Regions from separate parts of the Homo sapiens genome. Here region 2 is linked to region 1. Evidence: promoter capture Hi-C in 16 types of primary human blood cells and fetal thymus (Javierre and others, 2016). All regions are on one chromosome and are shown on one strand. Each heading gives the region's core, a stretch centred on a gene start or on the middle of the fragment in contact. The rest is flanking DNA. Distances are from core to core; before and after follow the strand shown. Region 1 holds the start of FAM83D (family with sequence similarity 83 member D). Region 2 overlaps PPP1R16B (protein phosphatase 1 regulatory subunit 16B).

What was found. Contacts are between HindIII fragments. The CHiCAGO score rates a contact against its expected background, and 5 or more counts as called.
Region 2: a fragment that was not itself captured here is called in contact with the fragment with the promoter of FAM83D in region 1 in 4 of 17 cell types (naive B cells, total B cells, total CD8 T cells and 1 more); the score reaches 8.0 in naive B cells.

Annotation. Positions count from the first base shown.
Region 1 is chr20:38,924,000-38,928,851 of GRCh38, reverse strand. FAM83D (family with sequence similarity 83 member D) reads right to left here and starts at 2,435. Exons shown (of 4, transcript NM_030919.3): 1 at 1,927-2,435. The coding sequence starts at 2,409. RefSeq lists enhancers at 773-862, 2,248-2,347 and a silencer at 2,458-2,817. The HindIII fragment of the contact is 27,857 bases long and covers 1-4,852 here.
Region 2 is chr20:38,811,589-38,816,440 of GRCh38, reverse strand. All of the region lies in intron 1 of PPP1R16B (protein phosphatase 1 regulatory subunit 16B), which reads right to left. Among named protein-coding and RNA genes, the nearest start is that of PPP1R16B, 8.3 kb to the right of the region's middle. The HindIII fragment of the contact is 2,586 bases long and covers 1,377-3,962 here.

The sequences.
Region 1 (4,852 bases), core at 1,186-3,685:
AACTGCCCAGGTTCCAAATACAGCATCTCGGAGGGAACTGTGGGTAGCTAGACTAGGGCAGCAGGTTCTATCTGGAAATGTCAGTATTACAAAATGCCCGTGAGATGAGGGAGAGTCTGAGCTCCTGGCTCCATCCCCTCCTCACGCCAGCACGTGAGTTTAATAGTTTCCCTCTGGCCTCTAGTTCCAGTGCCCTTTTGCTATCACTAAAATTTGGGGCTGGGCAAAAGACTAGAACAATCCACAGCTCTCACTATACAGACCAGTTCTTTACATTTTTCAGGTTCCAAGTGCTCAAGTTCTACTGGACATGAGCTTTGGGGATGCATACCTACACAAGTCTGCCTTTTCCATCTTTTTAATCTTTTCACTGAACCCGCAAGGAAAATGTCTGCTGCATCAAAAAACCCTCAGTCCACCCAAAGCACCTCAGGGCTGGTAAGAGCCTAGCTGCAGCCCACAACCACTCCCTCAAAGGCAAGGCACTAGGTCACTGTATCCACTACCACTGAAACCCCACCAGTCAGGGAAAGAACATTAAGAACATTGGTGAGAGTCGGGGCTTGGACATGTCAACCTGACAATGCACTGGTATCTTCACCCACACTCAGACACACTCAGGTACCAGCCCTAACAAGTCTTAACATGGCTGGGGCTTTATCTGCCATGTCCCTGGCACAGGCAGATAGCCAGGGAGCTGGGCACTGCCAGTCAGCAAGCAACCTGACCATGGCTCCAGACCAAGGTGTCTGCCACGACACTCTATGTGCCACACCCACCTGCAGGCTGCCTTCTTCCTCCTTGATCCCCAGCACCCTGCTGCAGCTTTATCGAGGCTGGCAAGCAGACAAGACCTCCATTGCACCCATGACCATGCCATACTAAGAGTCAGACAGTAGGACCAAAACCCACTATGAATACAGAAGCCGATCTAATGCAAATGTATCTGCATTTTAGGAGACCACTGCAATCTGGCACAGACCCAGCCTATGGAAAACAAACCCCTTGCCCCAGTTTCCCCTCCAGTCTCTGGCAGTAGAAAAAGCGGCAGGGGGCCGGGTGCGGTGGCTCACGCCTGTAATCCTAGCACTTTGGGAGGCCGAGGCGGGTGGATCACCTGAGGTCAGGAGTTCGAGACCAGCTTGGCCAACATGGAGAAACCCCGTCTCTACTAAAAATACAAAAATTAGCCGGGCGTGGTGGCGGGCACCGGTAATCCCAGCTACTTGGGAGGCTGAGGCAGGAGAGTCACTTGAACCCGGGGGACGGAGGTTGCAGTGAACTGAGATCCCACCACTTCACTCCAGCCTGGGCAAAAGAGAATCTGTCTCAAAAAAAAAAAAAAAAAAAAAAGACAAGAAAGAAAAAGCGGCAGGGCTCTCACTTTGCCACTCTCGTGTTTATCTGCTTTTTACAGCAAAAGATGCATGAAAGTAATTAGCAATAATAATTGCTTCCTAATGCCCCGTAGTTGTCTCTGGAGACCATCTTTCTGGAACTTTCCCTGCGTAAGTTCTTTGGTAATGAGTCTCCTAAGAAGCTCCTGAAAGTGGGATCTAGCGTTGGCTGACAGACAGGGAAATAGGCAATTTTCCAAGTTTGATTTTAACTGAAATTTGGAACTCAGAGTACTTCTGGTCCCTCCTTCAGGGATATGAACGTTAGGAGATGGAACCCGGGCACAATTCGCATCCTTGGGAACCGAGGCTTTCCCACTATCCCCTGCCACGAGGAGCGGCCCGGGGGATCCGGGGGAGACACGCAGAGTGGGGTGTGAGTCGGAGACCCTGGGACCACCTAGCCCGCGCGCGCTTCCGGTAGGGCGCAGAGGAGGTAGTGGCCCCGGCCCGTACTCCCAGCAGGCCTCAATTTCCCATTCTTGAAGGGGGTCTCCCGTGCGACCCAGGGCCCTGGAGGGCCGCTCACCTCTCGCGCCGAGCGGAGCTGCTGGCGCAGAGCGTCCTTGCAGCCGTAGGGGCCACCTTCGCCAGCGCCGCGGGGCTGGAAGTGCGTCTCGACACGCGTGGCGCCGCGGTAGGCGCCCTGGTAGAAGGCGGGCCAGCCAAGCTCCAACAGCGGTGGCTCCAGGTCCGACTGCTCGGGGAAGTAGGTGCCCGAAGAGCAGTCGTGCGAGGAGCCGAACGAGTCCTCGGCCGCCGCCGCCGCCGCCGCGCCCTCCTCTCCCGGCCTCTCCGCCGCGCGCAGAATGGCGTGCACCTCATCGGGGTTCAGGAAACGAGCCAGGCGCTCGCGTCGCAGGAAGGCCGCGAAGGCTTCGGGGCCGCCCGCCACCAGCTCCTCCAGAGCCAGGCGCCGTGACTCGCTGAACAGCTCGGTCGGGTTGGGCGGCCCGCACGGCGACAGGCAGGCGGCGGGCACCTCGTCCAGGCCCTCGGACAGCAGAGCCATGGCGGCGCTCGGACTCGACAGCCCTCGGACAAAAACCGGCGTGCAGTCCCGCTTTATAGGCAACCTTTGAATCAAACAGGCCCGCGCCATTGGCCGCACCTCCCCGCCTCGGCTCTCCCATTGGCTGCTTTCCTTCCAATAGCGGAGCGAGGCGGGGCGCAAGCCTCTACGGCTCCGCCCCCTGATGCGTTATTGGCTGCGATGCTGGGCTTGCTAAGAGGAATTTAAACTTGCAGGGGCGAGGCGGGCCGCAGAGCAGGGACAGAGCGGGGAGAGCCGAGCTCCTGGCCATCCCAGCGCGCCCCCTGCCGGTCGCCCCGCTGCGCGGCCGTGCAAGGCCAGGGACAGTCAGGCCTAGACAACGAGGAGAGGCAGGTGCCGACTCCCGGAGACTCTGGCCACGCTGCTCCTAGGCTCTCAGTGCTTTGGCATGGCCAACCATATCGCCTTTATCACCTGCCTTTAACCATGTATTCATTCATTCAAAGAATACCGGCTCATCGTATTAGGACTGCTCCTTTGATTACACCCTCGGGTAGTCTTCTCTCATTTCATCGATTTTTGCCTTGTAAAACCCCAACCAACCGTGGTTATACCCTACTTTCCACCTGCACCCCGGCAGCCCTACAGGGCTGAAGAAAAAACAAAAAGAGCGTAACCATGCTTACTGACTGGTCATGTTTTAAATTCATAATCCGTAAGACTGCCTGCTAGGAGGCCGGGCGCGGTGGCTCACGCCTGTAATCCCAGCACTTTAGGAGGCCGAGGAGGGCGGATCACCTAAGGTCAGGCGTTTGAGACTAGCCTGACCAACACGGTGAAACCCCGTCTCTACTAAAAATACAAAAATTAGCCAGGTGTCTTGGTGTACGCCTGTAATCCCAGATACTCGGGAGGCTGAGGCAGGAGAATCACTTGAACGCGGGAGGCGGATGTTGCAGTGAGTCGAGATAGCACCACTGCACTCCAGCCTGGGCGACAAGATCGAAACTCCATCTAAAAACAAAACAAAACAAAACAAAAGCAAACAAACAAAAAAACTGCCTGGTAGGCCGCATTTCCCTCATTCTCTCTACCTTTTCCTCTCTGACAGCTTGTCTTCCATGTCAGCAAGAACACAGAAACAGTAAGAAGGGAACGTCCACGTGCGGCCATCTAGTCTACCTTCCTGTCTGCATCTCTGCCCGTATACTGGGCATTGATGAACTGTGCCTGTGCCCATCCAACCCCAACCCCTCTGCCTGGGCATTTCCAGCCCCTCTACTACTCACCAGCATCGCTCCAGCAATCTTCTTCTTTCTCCTGGAACATCAGCTTCCCTCTTTACCGATTCATTTCTATCAGCCTACAAGCATGCTGAAATATTTTTCATCTTAAAACAACCCTCTCTTGACCCTACATTCCTCTAAAGCTCCCCATCTCACTTCTTATTTTTGCAGCATAGAATCTCAGATGTGGCTGGCCATGGTGACTTACACCTGTAATCCCAGCACTGTGGGAGGCCAAGGGAAGAGGATCACTTGAGCCCAGGAGTTTGAGACCAGCCTGGGCAGCATAGTGAGACCCTGTCTTTACAAAAAAATACAAAAGTTAGCTGGGCATGGTGGTGCGCCTAACTTTTAGTGCATGGCAGTGCTCATGATGGTCCCAGCCAGTGGGAAGGCTGAGGCAAGAGATCACTTGAGCCCAGGAGTTTGCAGCTGTAGTGAACTATGATCACACCACTGCACCCCAGCCTGGGTGACAGAGTAAGACCCTGTCTCAGAAAAAGAAAGAAAGAAAAGAAAAGAAAAGAAACCCTCAAACCAGTTGTCTATACTTGCTGTCTCCAGTTCCCTTCCAGCCCTCTTCAATCAGGCTAAAACCCCCACTGCTTTACCAAAACCTCTTGTCAGGTTCATCATGAGTTCCACAGAGCTAAATCCAACAGTCAATTTTCAGTCGTCATCTTTTTTATGTAAATGAAAAGTGGGTCATAAATGTGAGATGTTACCATTATTATTTAGCAACCAATAACCTTTTTAAATGGATGAATGCCTGCCGCTGTTGAGACGCCTCTCCCTCTCTACCTCTCCTCTCCCCATCCCCATCCCTTTGTGAAGTTTCTCAAGAATAAGTGTGGGGACTTCCATGTGTCCCTGCGCTGGTATCCAGGGTCCGGGAGGCTGCAAGAGAGCACCTTCTTTTTTTTTTTTTTTTTTTTTTTTTTGAGACGGAGTCTTGCCCTGTCACCCAGGCTGGAGTGCAATGGCGTGATCTCGGCTCACTGCAACCTCCGCCTCCAGGGTTCAAACGATTATCCTGCCTCAGCCTCCTGAGTAGCTGGGATTACAGGCTCATGCCACCACACCTGGCCAATTTTCTGCATCTTTAGTAGAGATGGGGTTTCATCACGTTGGCCAGGCTGGTCTCGAACTCCTGACCTTGTGATCCGACACCCTTT
Region 2 (4,852 bases), core at 1,420-3,919, 110 kb after region 1:
TACCACAGGCCTGTTCAGAGCACACCTGCTTGTAATCCCTGTGGTAAACAGCCTATTTATGCCACCTACATCCAACCTCTATGAGCTTCAAGGTTGCTGATTTTTAAAGCCAGCCTCCTGTTTCCTTGCTCCCACTCTATCTGGACCAACGTACAGATCTGCCCGGGTTTGAGTGATCGGTAATCAGTGCCAGCTGCAAACTCAGCTGGGTTTCCCCACAGGCTCCCTCAAACAAACCCTATTTGTGAACATGGAAACTACCAAAGAGACTATTCTAAAATTACTCACCCCTTCCTAACTTCCCACTTCTTCTGCTGCCCCCACTAAGGATAAGCTCCATTATTTTTTTTTTTCTTTTTGCTTCTAATCAAGTTGTTTTCTTTTGAGAATTTCAAGCCTCCTCACACCCTGGGACATAATGCATACGGTATTTTATGAATTCATTTGTGATATTAATGAATATAGAGTTTATCAAACAAAAGTTAGCTAAGCTTATGCATTTCTCTAGCACAATGTGAACCATACAGTTTTGCTCTCATTTTATTTGTTCATTTGTCTGCCAACTCCAGGAGATGGGATCAACCTGAGGGCAAAAGCTGGTTTCATTTAATTTTGTATCCAATTCCAAGCCTAAGGCCAGGTACAATGTAGTTTCTGAATATTTGATCATCATTATGTAGGCATAATCCAAAGGGTCATAAAATCTAAAAATTACTGTAGAACCTTATGCAGAAATGTTCTGCTTTATATCTGTCAGACTGACAAAAATGAAAGTTACTTAATCCTCAGTGCTGGAGAATAGATGGGGGAAACAGTCATACACTGTTGAGGAAACAGAAATTGGTTCAGCCTCTTTGGAGAACAGGTTAGCAATGTCTATCACAGTTGAAACTGCCAGGAATTTTCCTTATGAATAAAATCATCAGTATGTAGAGTATACAAAGATATATACACTGTTCAAACAAGGATGTTGCAACATTATACATTTGTAGGAGGAAAAAAACTGGAAACTATCTTAGCCATCATCAAGAAACTAGAAAACAAATGATGGTACATTTTTATCACTGGACTATCAGATAGCCTTAAAGATCCAGGTATATCTGTGTGTTGGCATGTGCTCAGATAAATTAGCTGAAAAAGAAGATCTCAGGAGAGTTTTGTATAGTTGTGTTAAAAAGAAAAATGGATAAACATGTAAATGAATATGGGTTTATATATGCATATGAAATTTATGGAAAAATACATAAAACATTTATAGATTTATTCCGGGGAAAAGGGATGAGTGGCTGAGAAGATGGGGAAAGTTTACTTATGATACACTTATATACTTTGTGTAATTAAAAAGCATGACATACAGCCATAGGAAAACAAAAGCTTAAGTTTATATATAAAAGAAAAAAAATGAATGACATTTTGGTGAAAATCTTCCCTATATTTTTATAAGGTAATTGGCAATGTTTATAAGGCAACATTTCCTCTCTATCCAGTCCATGGGATAGCCAACGACAGCAATAGTTCCAGAAAGAAAACAGGAGACAGAGAAAGTCACCAAAAAGAGTCAAGAGACCTAAAGAGAATAAGTGTCAAAATTTGTATGTTTTACTTGTTCTTGGATGTGAGGAAACAAAGGCAGTTCTGACTAAGAGTCTGAACTAAGACATTCTGAGAACTCTCCAGGCTGGCACAGACTCTGGGGCCAAGAAGCGGAGGAGACTAGGGATGCCCAGGTAAGTAATGGCCATAAGTAACCTAGTGAACAAAATGAATGACCCAGCTCCTGGGGACATAATGACACAGTGCTTTGCTCACCTATTTCCCTAGCTCCTGAATACTCCTAGGGACTAACTCTAATGATAATAATGCCATAAGAATAGTTGGCATGTATCAGGTACCTCCTACCTGCCAAGCAGAGGCTAAATGCCTAATCATATCAATTTATATTATACTATTATTATTCCTGTTTTACATATGGGGAAATTGTGGCTCAGCAAATACACACATGTAACTTACTCAAGGTTGCAGTAGGTGCTGGAGGTAGGAATCAAACCCGTACCTGACTCTAAAGCCAGCCAAGGTCATTGCTAGCCTTCCCCCCTCTGAAGGAAGGACAAGAAAAAAGGTACTCCCTCAGAGTAGGGATAGCCCCATAAAGAGAAGACAGCATTTTTATGCAAAGAAAGGGCCAGAGAGTGTAATGATTCAGTACAAGGACTTTGAAGCCGGATGTCCTGAAATGGAATCCTGACTTTTCCATTTACTGGCTGTGTGACCTTGAGTAAGACATTGAACCTCTCTGCTTCACTTTCCTGAACAGTAAAATCAGAGTAGCACTAAAGTCACACCTGGCCAGACACAGTGGCTCATGCCTGTAATCCCAACACCCTGGGAGGCCGAGCCGGGTGGATCACTTGAGGTCAGGAGTTTGAGACCAGCCTGGCCAACATGGTGAAACCCCTTCTCTACTAAAAATACAAAATGTAGCCAGGAGTGGTGGCGGGTGCCTGTAATCTCAGCTACTCAGGAGGCTGAGGCAGGAGAATCACTTGAACCCGGGAAGCAGAAGTTGCCGTGAGCCGAGATGGCACCACTGCCCTCCAGCCTGGACGACAGAGTGAGACTGTGTCTCAAAATAATAATAATAATAATAATAATAATAATAATAATAATAATAATGATGATGATGATGATGTCACCCCTTAGAGTTGTTAGGAGGACTAAAGGAGTTAAGTAGACAGCACCTGGCTCATAATAAGTACCAAGTGATTATGATGAATATTAAGAAAAAGGTGCCCGTCCCTCTAAGCAGATGCAACCCTGCAGGGTGCAGAGCTTGGCAAGTGGATCCACAGGCTAGATTTCAGCCTCTCCTTTAGCCGAGTGCCACTGTGCCCATCAGCAATACACAACTCTACAACCTTACATAGGTCCTGCTGAGCAATTAACCTGCATGTACTGGCAGTTCTTCCTCCCACCTTCCCTTCCATCAGTCTGGCTGTGAATCAGAATCACCTGGCACACTTTGAGAAAATACAGACTTTCAGGGCCCTATATTGGCTGATTCTAACACAGGTGGACTGGGCTAAGGCCCAGGCATCTGTACTTCTCACAAGTCCCAGGTGACCAGATGACCCAGGAACACCATGTACCTGGATACATGTTTTTGAAAGTACTCAAAGCTCATCATTCTAGCTGACATTCTGGCTGTCTGAGTTGCTCCTTGAGACCAAGCATCCTCTTTGTCAAGTCTGGTCCCAGGCCTGGGCACACAGAGAAGGGGCACAGTGAACATCTGTGACTCCGCAAGCCAGCCAGCACAGCAGATGGCTGTGTGAACAGGCACAACAGGCTGCATTTGCTTTCATGCTTAAGCGGTTTGCACCAGGGAACCCTCACCTGTAGACTTGGGGTCTCCCATACCCTTGCTTCTCAAAGTGCAGTTCACAGACTAGCAGCTTGACACCCCCTGGGAGCTTGGTAGAAATGCAGAAAACTCCATACCCAGCCCTACTGAGTCAGTTTCTGCATTTTAGCAGGAAACCAAAGGGGATCCATATGCAAGTTTGTGGATACGCCCTAGATCCCTTCTCCCTATCCAAGTAAGTTCTAACCAATGGGCACATCTAACCTGTTCAAACACCCTTTGGGGCCAGTCTTCTCCTTCAAACTCCTACAGAGACCCAGAAGAACAGCACAGTCCCTTCAACAGCCCAGACTCACACTTAGCAGCCAGCCTAAGGCTCCAGGTGAACCTTCACTTTAATAAGTTATTTATTTCTAAGTCCATATTAAAATAAACCTTCCCAATAAATTGAAAAAGAGACACCTCTGGCCTCTATAATTCCAGGAAGTAAAACACCCTCCTCTTTCGTACAGAATTGAGACCCCTGCTTTCCTGCCTAAAGCCATCCAGGGACATCAAACGGTCCAAAGAAAACAAGCGATGTCTTCCCGTTGGCCAAGCTTCAAGTTATCAGGCAGATTTCACACTGCAGTTTGACCTCATTAATCCAAGGCCTATCACATTGCTGTAAATGTCAGTGGAAAATAGCCATTCAGTGGGTTTCCTTCATTCCACTAGAAAGGGACAAAACAGGAAGCTGACAAGCAGCTGTGCCCCAGCTTGGCAAATCCCAAGGGCCCAGCTGACAGCACCTATGCTCCTCTGCCCCAGCCTACTTTCCAGATAAAGACGGGTCCTGTATCTACATGGGTAAAATGCAGTGGTGATGGCAGGAACAATTCAGATAATCTGGGCCCCCAAGCACCTGCTTGGGAAGGAAAACAGAGAGCTCGGTCTGAATGTCTTTGGCCTGAGTTACTAATTGGCTGTTCATCATTCAAGTTCATCTAAATCTCTTCTGCCTATTCAAAATGTTCCACAAGCTAAACCCCTGGGACTCCAGGGGACATAAGGCCTTCCAAGTCCTCATTCATTCCTTTAATGCATATTGATTGTCTCCTGTGTGCTGGACATCATGCTGATCACGCTGGCCAACTGGAGACACACAGCTGAATGAATTGGACACAGTCACGGACCTTATGGGGCTCATCGTCCAGTGTAGTCTTTCTTAACCTCAGCACTATTGATATTTGGGATCAGATCATTTTCTGTTGTGGGGGTGCTCTCCTGTGCACCACAGGATATTTAGCAGCACCCCTGGTGTCTACTCACTGGATGTCAGTAGCTCCTCTCCCCCACTATCCCCCGAAAAGTTGTAACAACCAAAAACGTCTTTAGACATTGCCAAATATCCCCTGGGGAGGGTCAAACTGCCCCAAGTTGAGAACCACAGGTCTAGTGGATGAAACAGAAGACTAAAAGAGTAATGCTCACATATAACCATATAATCAC